Regions from separate parts of the Homo sapiens genome. Here all the other regions are linked to region 1. Evidence: promoter capture Hi-C in 16 types of primary human blood cells and fetal thymus (Javierre and others, 2016). All regions are on one chromosome and are shown on one strand. The core of a region is centred on a gene start or on the middle of the fragment in contact, and the rest is flanking DNA. Distances in the headings are between cores, read along the strand shown.

Region 1 (3,116 bases), core at 131-2,630:
AAGGTTTTACGGAACCACTCACTTGAAGGGAGTAAAAATGGATGCCCAAATAACTCTTTCGGAGTTCTTCAATGTTAACCGCTGACCTCCTTAATTTCTGATCAGTTACATCACCAGTTCCACTAAAAGTAAAACCTGGAAAGGCAGCCACCTCCTCCAAATGGCTTGTTCACAGACTATCTAGTAGAGAAGACGACTATTAGATTTCAAGGCCGAGGGTGTGGTTATCTTCCCACAGAGGGAATGAGGGGTAGGGGCTGATGAGGACGGGCAGCAAAACATGGGATGGATTATTAGCCCTGGAAGATGAAGTGGGCATTAGTGGGGCAGGAGGTGGTACAAAAAGGGGAGAAGTGAGTACCTACATGAAGAGAGGGTAAGAGAGGGTGAGGGAGGGGAGGGCCCGTGAATTAACGAGTCCGCGCGCGTCGGAGAGAGGCTGGCTTGGGATGTACCTACCCGTCGAAGCGGACGGTGCCAGTCTGCTGAGTCTGCACCCGGTAATGTTCTAAGAGCAAGCGTACCACCTTTGCGTGTCCATTGCGGGCTGCGATGATGAGGGGCGTGGAGCGCTGCCCTCCCTGCTGGCTGACATAGCCAAGCAGATAGCGGATGTCGCTTTCAGACCGGTTGAGAAGCAAGGCGGCCAGAGTCAGCACCTTGCCCTCGCTGGCCGCCTTGTATACATAGCCAGCCAGGCCCTCCATGGCCGCCGCCAACTCCAACACCCGTTTGGTCGCCACCGCTGCAGCTGCCGTGCGCCCCCGGAGGCCGCGTTCGCCAGCGCTTTAAACCTGGGCCCTCACAGCCCATTCAACAGGGCGCCGTCGCCGCCGCCGCGCCCAGGCAGCAGTGCGGCCCAGGGAAGGCGGAGACGCAGAGGAGGCCGAGTGCCGCGAAGGGCACGTCCGCGACCCAGCCCGCGCAGGGAGGAAGGCGGTCAGGGCCGCCCGCCAGGTCCCAGGCGCCGGCCCTGGACCGAGGGGATCTCCATGGCGGACGCCGCCCCGGGCCTCAGGCCGGACCCCTCCTTCCTGCGGGATGCGACAGGCGCGTGCCCGAGCTACGGGTCGCCGGCCGGGTCCCGAGAGGACCTCGCGCACCCCGGATGGCGAAAGATGGGCGCGTCTCTCCTGACCCGGCCCACCCGGCCTAAGGCCTAACACTGCCTCCTCCTGCGCTTTCCGCCCTTCGCCGTCCCTGACTGGAGGAAACCTGCAGGCTCTCGTCCGCCGAGCTCAGAAGTGCCAGGCGCTGCCAACGGCCCCGGAGATCCTCGCGTAGGGGCCCCCGGGGCGATGCGGAACGCTCCCGCAAGAGCGGCGCCGGAACTTGGGCGGGGAGGAAGACGAGCTTTCGCAGACAGGGCCGGGAGGAGAGGGCGGGAGCGGGAGGGACGCTAAGTGGGGTGTCTCCGCCTAAGCCGACCGGCGGGCACACGCGGGCCCGGTAGAGAAAGGTTCTGCTGCGCGTAGTTGGCCCATCCCGTTTGGGCCTGGATGTCCTCAATGTCCTTGACTCCTGGAACCTCCTCCTGGCCCCTAAACGGCCCTGAGGGTCTCCAGCCAGGGAGTGGGGGCGGAGTGAGGGCGCTAAGCTGATGGGCTAAGGAGACCACCCTATTTTACTATAGACGGTGCGGGTCCTGCTTCTGCCCCTGAGCCGGGGTTAGGGAAGGGGTTGCGCGTACTCGGAGGGTCCATTTCAGGAAAAGGGCGGCGTTTCTGAGTTCCCGAAATGTGGGAGGGCTTGAGAGCCACAACACCAGGCTCTGAGAAGGGACTGGAAGTACGGCCTGACTTTCCCGGAGAAAGGGGTTAAGTGTGAGAGAAAGATGGGAGCGAAGGGGAGCTGCGCTCGCGGTGGAAGGAGCGAGGTATCCTGGGAAGGAAAGCGAGTCCCGCGTTCAGACAGAGCAGGAATCTCATCCTGAGCCGGCAGAACCTCCGTTTTCTCACAGACATCACAAGATTGTTGTTAGGATTTGAAACGATCGTTTATCCAATGAATATTAGAGGTCGACTACGTGCCAGGCTCTGCTTAGCACTAGGGATTCAGTAATGGAACAAATAAGTCAACAAATGATAGACAAGATCAGTTGAACTGGTATCATTACCATTTGCTCTGAAGCAAATGAAATAGAATGATGGGGGCACTCATTTAGTTTGGGTGATCAGACAAGACCTCTATGACAAGTGACAAGAACAGACGGTATTCTAGGCAAAGGGGACAGCTAATATAAAAGTCCTGAGGAGGGAACAGTCTGGTGAGCTCGGAAACAGAAAGGTCAGTGTGGCTGCAGCAGAGTGGGCCACAGTAAGAATGATAGATGAAGTCAGAGGATGCAACACACGTTAGGGCCTAATAACCCATAGCAAAGGGTTTAAGTCTACTCTGTGATGGGGGCATTTGAAGGGTTTTAAAGAGGGAAGTGACAAGATGCTATTTGTGTTTTTTAAAAAGATCACTCTGGCTGCTGTATGGAGAATAAACTCTGGAAGGCAAGAGTAGATAGGGGGACAGGCCTTGGATTAGGATGGTAGGAGTGAATGGTAGGTGATGAAGCTTCTGGGACAGTCTCAAAAAACTCAATATGAAAGTGACTTCCTCCCTCTTCCTCCCTTCCCCAAAGGACAAAATTTACCATAGAGAAAGAACAAATGCATTTATGTGGCTCCAAGGGACTGGGCTCGGCTCAACAAGTTCACATACATTATTTTATTTGAACCCCACCATTCCAATTCTAGGAGGTAAAGGCCTCACTTCCATTGCAGCTATTGGTGGAGGTGTGGGTCACTTCTCAAATTCTCTCCATTCTACAGCTCAGCTTTACCCACTTATTGCAGATCCCTACAGAAACACGAGTTATTTTTCTCCTTACCATAAACAAAAACAGCATTGGCAATAAGGGCTGAAGGTAAGATTCTACTGGTAGCGTCTCTGAAATAGCTGATAGAGAAGTGGGGGAAGCTGGCTGGTTTATTTGGGGACTTCAGGGTCATGAAAAAACCCAGTGTTTGACAGGGACCCAGGCTTTTTGGTCTCGGATTCACACATTCAGATGTGTGATGACTTCCTTTTCTGGCTCCATACGGCAAGCATGCACCTCATCTACC
Region 2 (3,082 bases), core at 453-2,952, 390 kb before region 1:
TCCAGAAGGTTCTTGGATCCCCTGTAGCGCCCCCCTCCCCAGCCCTGGGCCATGCCTGCAGGTTGCAAGTGTGAACACGTTGTGGGGCAGATGACCTAGGCCCTCTCGCTGACCGAGGCTCACTGTGTGTCAGGCATGGTGCTAAACTCTTAGCCAGCATCACTCTATTTTATTCCAGTTCCAGCACTTCCCAGCTGTGCGACTTTGTATAAGCTATACCTGTTTCCTCATCTGCAAGGTTGCTGAGTATTCAGTGGCACCAGGCGTCTCAAGAGCTTAGAACAGTCCCTGGCCCGTTGTACGTGTTCAACAGGTGTGGGTGATTACTGTCATCATGACAACCCTGCCAGGTGGGATTTATTATCTCTCGTTTACAAATAAGAAATCCAAGGCTTTCGGGAGTAATAACTCATCTAGCAAATGGCTGGGTCAGGACTACAGGTCCCGAAGCCCATGGTCTTCACTGCCCCATATTCTATTTCCAGAGATGGAAGTAACTGGTCTGAAGTCTCTTTCCTTTCCAGCAACTCCCTCCACTAAAACATAGAACTAGCTCTTTCAGCATTCCTCCACATCCCCCCGCCCATCTTCAGTGCACTCTCCCATCTCACAGATGGGGAAACTGAGGCTGAGAAGGGGGAGGTAGTGAATAGAGAGGCCCAGTGCAAACCTGGCTTATCCACAGGGCCTCACCCGTCCCACTCCTCACGCAGGGTTTTAAATCCAAAGCTTTGCCATCAGGCAGATGTGGGGCTTTGGCCAAGACTCATCTGCACCCTGGGCCTCAAAAGATTTCTCTGTCCGAAAAGATCCCTGTCCAGTATTTGGGCTGAACTCTGGCTGTTGGGAATGGAAAAACGAATGGGTGTGTTTCCCAGCCTCAAGGAGCCCATCGCCTAGAAGCAGGAACAGGTGTGAAAACAGACCACGATACCCCTGCCTCAAACATGGCAAGGACATGGCAGGAAGCGGAGAGTCTGTTGGCAAAGCAGAGGAAGAAGCAGGATGGCTCCAGGTGGCTTCCTGGAGGCGGTGCCCTGAGCTGTGCAGAGAGGAGCATGAAGAAGGGCAGGCAGGTAGAAGAGACCGGGGCTGGCTCAAGGTCTGGTGAGGGCAGGTGAGTCAGGAAGGGGCAGAGTGGGCCAAGCCATGGAGCCAGGGTGGGGCAGGACTTCATCCAGAAAGGGAGGCCTTAGGGGTTTTTAGAGTAGGGGTGGGGGAGCATGAGAGTGAAGGGAGATCAGGAGCGGGGAGCCTGGGGAGAGGGAAGCCTAGGGCCTGTTTGTCGAGGGTCTTCTTTGCTCCTCACCTGTGCTGCAGCTGAGCCACAGATCCTCTCACTGCCCAGGAAGGAGCCCAGAGCCAAATCTCACCCAAGGGCATGCGGCAGGTTTCTGGCAATGCCTAGATTTGGCTGGTCTACGGCCATACCACCCTGAACACGCTGATCTCGCTGAACCCAAATCTGCCTGACTACAAAACCGTGTATTTTTATCATTTTTGGGGACTCAGTGCAGTGATTGCAATAGTGTAGATAAGAAAGGACAACATCAAGGCCCTGTCCAGCACATGGGCTTAGAGAGGCACAAAACTCCCTTGGCCCCTTCCCTGCCCATCCCCCAACACAACACCCCAACCCCCAGTGCCCACAGCCGCCCTGCTTTCTCCACCCTCGCTCTCCAGGAAGAGCTCATTCAGGGGAGGAGGGAAGCACCTGCTCAGGCCACTTCTCTTTCTTTGTCTGGGGCTCTGCCAGGAGGAGCCAGCAGGGAAGGAGTAGTAGACAGAAAGAAAGAGAAAGGAAATTCCCGCCAGCTGTCAGGAAAGAATGGTGTCCTGGAAGGCCACTCACCCACTCCCTGGGTCCTGTGGAGTTCAGAACACTGGGGACTGGGGGAGGCCTTCATCCTTTGCCTCCTCTCATCTGAGAATCACCCTACCCACCTTATGTCCTAAATCTGGGCTCTTCCCTACTTCTGACACCTCGTGACACCTTGGAAAGGGAACTAGCTGCCTGGGGCCTCACTTTCAGTATTTGCATATCTGAGCATCATCTGTTGACTTGCCATGTGCCAGGTTTTATGTCCGCTACCCAGAATGTTCCCAAAGAATTATCTGTTCGAGCCTCTTCTCTACCTCAAACAAATAGGACACTCAGCTTTGAGAAGTACAGCAAGCTGTTAATACCATTAATCTAGGTGGTGTTCACTGCTAAATGATTTAAACTTTGCAGTATGTTTGAAAGTTTAATAATAAAATGCTGGGGGGAAAATATTTCTCAACCCAAAATATGTAAAAGGTAAATACCTGATGCATTGCCATCAAAGTTAGGAACAAGAGGTTGCTATGATTTAACATTTTCCTGTAGGACCTGCCAATGCAATTAAAAAAAGAAAGATATACCAGAGGTATAAAAGCTATAAATGAAGAGGAGAATTATCACTACTTGCAAATGATAAAATAGTATCCCTAGAAACCTCAAGAGAAACCACTGAAAATTAGTATAAGCTATTTGTGAATTTAGTAACATGGCAAAATATTAACATACAGAAACTTATGGCTTTCTAGTATACAATCATCAATTAGCAAATATAATTTTAAAAGGATATATAATACAATAAAAAAGGTAAATACGTGTAACAAGAAATGAATAAGAGCTATGTGAAGAAGCTTTTAATACACCACAAAAGGACACAAAGGACTACAAAAAGTAAACTATGATCATGGATATTTAGACTCAACATCATAAGGTTGACATTCTCTTTAATTTATCAATTTAACATAATCCCAATAAAATATCAATATTTTCTATCTATATAAGCAGATCCTAAAATTATATATTAAAATATATAAGCTAGAAGAGCCAACTACGTTTGAGAAAAGACCACAATGAGTGGTGACTATCCCTGTTGATATTAAAACATATTATGAAGTCTTAGTAACACAGCATTGTGGTACTGGTACATGAATAACAAGACTATTAAGTAGAAAATAATGGACAGTCTGTAAAATAAACCCAAATACATTCAGAAATGTAGAATGCAGCAAAGCCTGAATCTCAAATCAGTAGGGGAAAGAAAGG
Region 3 (3,039 bases), core at 123-2,622, 400 kb after region 1:
TGGCCAGGAGAATGTGCCTTGTGTATGAATGTCATTCACCATGTAAGTTGCTGGGGTGAAAAGGGCCGATAAACAAAAGAAAATCAGCACATCATCAACAAATTCTAATAAAACTAGTAATAGAATCAGCTGCAATTCAAAATGGACACTAAAGAAGACCAAATCTGGACTTCTGAGTAACAGTATGTGTGATAAATTACATATTTATTCTGCTCTAAGTCCAAGATGTTTACCATACTGCTCCCAAGCAAAACAAGCAAAGAAACAAAAAATTATACTATCCCACATGGAGATGGATTGCTAAGGTACAGCTACAAAGAAATATGTATCCTAGAGGAACACTGATATTTTCGTTAGGTTACATGTTGCCCGATTAGATTAAGAATAAAGACGGCCGGGCGCAGTGGCTCACGCCTGTAATCCCAGCACTTTGGGAGGCCGAGGCGGGCAGATCATGAGGTGAGGTCAGGAGATCGAGATCATCCTGGCTAACACAGTGAAACCCCGTCTCTACTAAAAATACAAAAAATTAGCCACGCGTGGTGGCGGGCGCCTGTAGTCCCAGCTACTTGGAAGGCTGAGGCAGGAGAATGGCGTGAATCTGGGAGGCAGAGCTTGCAGTGAACCGAGATTGCGCCACTGCACTCCAGCCTGGGTGACGAGCGAGACTCCGTCTCAAAAAAAAAAAAAAAAAAAAAAATTATAATTGCGTGCAAGGCCCCTCACTTGTTTCCATCCATGTATTCATTCTTTTTTTTTTTTTTTTTTGAGATGGAGTCTCATTCTGTCACCCAGGCTGGAGTGAAGTGGTGTGATCTCAGCTCTCTGCAAACTCTGCCTCCTGGGTTCAAGCGATTCTCCTGCCTCAGCCTCCCGAGTAGCTGGGACTACAGGCATGTGCCACCATGCCCAGCTAATTTTTGTATTTTTAGTAGAGACAGGATTTCACCATGTTGGCCAGGATAGTCTCGAACTCCTGACCTCAGGTGATTCGACGCCTCGGCCTCCCAAAGTACTGAGATTACAGGCGTGAGCCCAGCCCATTCTCTTTTATATTCATATTACACACTCTCTCATATACCTTGGCAACCACTTTACTATGTTTACAGTAAATGTTTTTGTATTTTTGGAAAATATGTATTTCTTATGTTAATTTATTAAGGTATAATTTACATTCAGTAATAGCCAACCAATCTTTGACAAAGGAGCAAAGGCAATTCAATAGGAAAAGGTTAATCTTTTCAACAAATTGCTCTGGAATCACCATATGCAAAAAAAAAAAAAAAAAAAAAAAAGGATCCAGAAACAAACTTTAGACCTTTCACAAAAATTAATTCAAAATGGGTCATAGGCCTTAATATAAAATGCAGAGCTATAAAACTTCTAGAAGAAGAAAGGAGAAAGACTAGATGACTTTGGATTTGGCTATGAATTTTCAGATACAACACCAAAAGCATGATTCATGAAAGAAAAATTGATGTCAAACTTTATTAAAATTAATAACTTCTGCTCTGCACAAGACACTGTTAAGAGAATGAAAAAGTCACAGACCAGAGAAATTATTTATAAAACATGTATCTGATAAAGTACTTGTATCCAAAACATACAATGAACTCTTAAAACTCAACAAAAACAAAGAAACCAATTTTAAAATGGATCATCTGAACAGATATCTCAACAAATAAGATAAACAGATGGCAAATAAGCATTTAAAAATGTCTGGGTGGGGTTGGCTCACGTCTGTAATCTCAGCACTTTGGGAGGCCGAGGAGGATCACTTGAGCCCAGGAGTTTGAGACCCACCTGGGCAACAGAGCGAGTCCCCGTCTCTACAAAAAAGTTAAGAATTAGCTGGTGTGGTAGCAAACTCTTGTAGTCCCAGTTACTTGAGAGGCTGAGGCAGGAGGATCACTTGAGCCTGGGAGATCGAGGCTGCAGTGAGCTGTGATTGCACCAGTGCACTAACCTGGGCAACAGAGCAAGACTCTGTCAAACAGCAACAACAACAACAACAACAAAATGCTCAACATTATTTGTCATTAAGGAATTGCATATTAAAACAATGAGATATATACATCAGTATATATTTAACTTTATCGGAAATTGCCAAACCAATGTCCCATTTTGCATTTCCATCAGCAATATATAAGTGTTCTAGTTGCTCAGGATCCATCCCAGGGAAGAAAAAAGGAAAGGTAAAAAGAAAAAGAAATAAGAGCTTCAGTTGCTCTACATCCTCAGCTTGTATTGTCAAGATTTTAAAATTTGAGCATTTTGTGATGTTAATGGTATCTCATTGTGGTTTTAATATGCAATTCTCTATTGACTAATTATGTTGAGAATCTTTTTATGTGCTTATATCTTATTTGGCGAAGTAGCTTTAAATCTTTTGTTTTATATCTTATTTTTAAGTTAGTGTTTGTTTTATATCTTATTTGGTAAACAGCTCTAAATCTTTTGTTCAATTTTAAGTCAGTGTTTTTATTTATTATTGAGTTGGGAGGTTTCTGTATATATTCTGGATAGAATTTGGTATCACTGTCCAATCAAGAAATGGAAAACAGGTAAAGTTTAACATAAAGAAATAACAGGAGATTTGAGTAATGGGAAATCGACTCATAAGAGTTATAGAGAACTCTGATGAATGCAAGAATGGCAAATACAGGGAACAGCCGCTGCCAGCAGGATAGAGTGTCCAAGGAAGAACTCCAGACCCTGCTGGGGAGAGCACAGCATGGCATCCTGGGTGGTGGAGAAGACACTGAAGTGGCTCACAGTGTAATAGTGGAATCTTCCCTTTAGGGTACTAGGGGGTGTTGTCCACAGAGAAGTGCCATACCTTGAAACTTGCTGCAAATTCTTCAGGTGATGGGGTGCTGGGGGAAGCCGTTCATGGTCAGGTGCCTTGCCAGTGGCACACCACTTAGAGAAGATGCTGAGGGAAGCTTCTGTCAGCTGGGCACTGAAGGTTACCATGCACTGCCAGAACTGGGAGCTGGAGAAGCTGCCCTTTTCAGGAAAAGGGAAAGAGTAAGAGAC
Region 4 (2,887 bases), core at 42-2,541, 420 kb after region 1:
AGGAGTTCAAGTCCAGCCTGGCAACATAGCGAGACCATGACTCTAAAAAAATACATCATCGGCTGGGCACGGTGGCTCATGCCTGTAATCCCAGCACTTTGGGAGGCTGAGGCAGGTGGATCACAAGGTCAGGAGTTCAAGACCAGCCTGGCCAAGATGGTGAAACCCTGTCTCTACTAAAAATACAAAAATTGCAGGGCGCGGTGGCAGGCGCCTGTAATCCCAGCTACTTAGGAGGCTGAGGCAGGAGAATCACTTGAATCCAGGAGGCGGAGGTTGCAGTGAGCTGAGATCGCGCCACTGCACTCCAGCCTGGGCAACATAGCGAGATTCTGTCTTAAAAAAAAAAAAAAAAAAGGGCCAGGCGCGGTGGCTCACGCTTGTAATCCCAGCACTTTGGGAGGCCGAGGTGGGCGGATCATCAGGTCAGGAGTTCGAGACCACCCTGGCCAACACAGTGAAACCCTGTCTCTACTAAAAATACAAAAATTAGCTGGGCATGGTGGTGGGCGCCTGTAATCCCAGCTACTTGGGAGGCTAAGGCAGGAGAATCGCTTGAACCCGGGAGGTGGAGGTTGCAGTGAGCCGAGATTGTGCTACTGCACTCCAGCCTGAGCAACAGAGCTAGACTCCATCTCAAAAAAAAAATAAATAAATAAAAAATACATCATCATGCAATTTTGCTTATCATAGAAGGCAAAAACAAAAACAAACATGAAAAAGAGAAGGCATAAACCAAAATAAAAGAAATAAAACCAAACATGCCAACATAAAAATAAACGCATGATACTAAAAGCCAAAGACCTTCAAACTGGGTTAATACGATTTAAGTACTACAAGGTATCTATATTACTGTGTATCAGATATTTTGAAATAAAACCGCACTCTTTCCATCTGTAGGGTCCCTGCATTAGGCGAGCGTGCCTTTTAGGCCACCTCCTCATCAGTCCTGCCCTGCTCCCTGCTCAGAGGTACTGAGTGCCACAGTGTCCCCACAGACACAGGCAGAGACAGTCTAACGGAAGGGGTGAGGGTGGACAGAAGTGACTGCCTCAGAAAACCATACTTGAGTGTTAGGAGTGTGCTGCCCATTTGCTGGTGAGTGCAGCCCTGTACAGTGAATGAGGGCCTAAGCTTCTCCCTGCAAGCTTCCTGTCTGCAGGTTCTGGGCCACTTTAGAGGGCAAAGTATGCACAGGCCACCTACCATGTGACTTCCCCCAGCCCCAGTGGCAGGTTATTAGGGAAATTTCCATCTTGGACTCTGGCCAACAACTGACCACTAAGTTTTCTGAATGGTTCTCAGTTTTTGTCTTTTTCTGTGTCTCAAGTAGCTTTCGAATTTAAGTTGGAAGATGGCACATCAAGGAAGTTTGATCTGTGGTCATCTTAACTCTTGAAATCCTCTTATCTGTCCTTTGTAACAGAAGCTTTAAAGAAAAAAATGTGTCTATTAAGGCCAGGTGTGGTGGCTCACACCTATAATCCCAACACTTTGGGAGGCCAAAGTGGGAGGATCACTTGAGGCCAGGAGGTTGATGTTATAGTGTCGCCTAGGCGACAGAGCAAGAACTTGTCTCTATAAATAAATAAATAAATAAATAAGATTTAAAATTCAGGTGCTGTGCCAGGTGCTGGTGATACAGGAGACAGAAAGAAATTATTCAGGCAGATCGTGAGGGTAAGAGTCCTCGGCAGAAATTCCCTTTCAACAAAAAGCAGCCCAAAATCATTGCTTTTCTAACAAAGAGCAGCCTGAAAAATCGAGCTGCAAACAGATAAGCAAGCTGGAAGCTTGCACGGGCGAATGCCAGCACCTGTGCCAATAGAAAAGGGTTACCTGAGGGCCAGGTATGTTCAATATGGAGGCTTCAACTTCCCTTTTGTCACCATGTGTACAGTAAAGGAACAGGCAACATGGTGCCAGCCAGGTAGAAAGCTCATCTGCATAATAAAAGATTAGGGTGGGGGTGGCCAGACTTTTACACACTATGCAAATAGCATACCTAGTCCTAACCACTTTTTCATGCCTTATGCAAATGGCACACCTGGTCCAAGCACTCTTTCGTGCTCTATGTAAATCAGACGCTACCTTCTCAAGCTCATCTATAAAACCCTGCATTTCACTGTGGACTGGAAACCTGCTCAGGACCCCTCTCCTTGTAGGAGAAAGGTTTTCTCTTTCTTTCGCCTTTTTTTTTTTTTTTTTTTGAGATGGAGTCTCACTTTGTCACCAGACTGAAGTGCAGTCGTGTGATCTCAGCTCACTACAACCTCCACCTCCCGTGTTCAAGTGATTCTCCTGCCTCAGCCTGTAGCTGGCACTACAGTCGTGCACCACCACACCCAGCTAATTTTTGTATTTTTAGTAGAGACGGGATTTCATCATGTTGGCCAGGATGGTTTCGATCTTTTTGACTTCGTGATCCACCCACCTTGGCTTCCCAAAGTGCTAGGATTACAAGTGTGAGCCACCATGCCTGGCCTCCTTCTATTAAACCTCCGCTCTCAACCTCACTCCTTGTGTGTCCATGTCCTTGATTTCCCTGGCATGAGACAATGAACCTCAGGTATCCCCCCAGGCGAATGGTGCCACTTCACTGGGAGTACAGCAATGAATAAAGTCTGGCCCCTCACAGCTGGGTTCATGGTCTGGGAGGTGGCAGGGGAAGCAAACAAGTAAACAACTAACTCTAAACAAGGCAGAAGAAAATCAGCACTAAATATAGGCATCTGAGTGGGAAGAACAGGGAGGCGGGAGCAATTAATGAGGGTGAAGGAGTGAGAGAAACCTTTATGGCGGGTTTTCAGGGCCTCACTCTAAGCCCACAACAGTAAATTATCAATGGAGGCAACAGTCCATGCACCCAAAGTGCTGTAAGCACTTG

What was found. Contacts are between HindIII fragments. The CHiCAGO score rates a contact against its expected background, and 5 or more counts as called.
Region 2: a contact is called between a fragment that was not itself captured here and the fragment with the promoter of FEM1B in region 1, in 1 of 17 cell types (endothelial precursors). The highest score is 5.5, in endothelial precursors.
Region 3: a contact is called between a fragment that was not itself captured here and the fragment with the promoter of FEM1B in region 1, in 1 of 17 cell types (neutrophils). The highest score is 6.7, in neutrophils.
Region 4: a fragment that was not itself captured here is called in contact with the fragment with the promoter of FEM1B in region 1 in 1 of 17 cell types (neutrophils); the score reaches 5.0 in neutrophils.

The regions. Positions count from the first base shown.
Region 1 is chr15:68,276,009-68,279,124 of GRCh38, reverse strand. FEM1B (fem-1 homolog B) reads right to left here and starts at 1,380. Exons shown (of 2, transcript NM_015322.5): 1 at 460-1,380. The coding sequence starts at 707. RefSeq lists enhancers at 541-740, 483-1,384 and a silencer at 771-1,100. The HindIII fragment of the contact is 2,784 bases long and covers 1-2,567 here.
Region 2 is chr15:68,665,235-68,668,316 of GRCh38, reverse strand. All of the region lies in intron 2 of CORO2B (coronin 2B), which reads right to left. It overlaps LOC124903514 (a long non-coding RNA gene), which reads right to left. Exons shown (of 2, transcript XR_007064691.1): 2 at 2,659-3,082. Among named protein-coding and RNA genes, the nearest start is that of CORO2B, 88 kb to the right of the region's middle. RefSeq lists a silencer at 1,593-1,887. The HindIII fragment of the contact is 1,941 bases long and covers 732-2,672 here.
Region 3 is chr15:67,873,667-67,876,705 of GRCh38, reverse strand. No RefSeq gene overlaps it. Among named protein-coding and RNA genes, the nearest start is that of RNU6-1, 35 kb to the right of the region's middle. The HindIII fragment of the contact is 3,151 bases long and covers 1-2,947 here.
Region 4 is chr15:67,852,798-67,855,684 of GRCh38, reverse strand. No RefSeq gene overlaps it. Among named protein-coding and RNA genes, the nearest start is that of RNU6-1, 14 kb to the right of the region's middle. RefSeq lists enhancers at 1,733-2,288, 2,289-2,846. The HindIII fragment of the contact is 281 bases long and covers 1,151-1,431 here.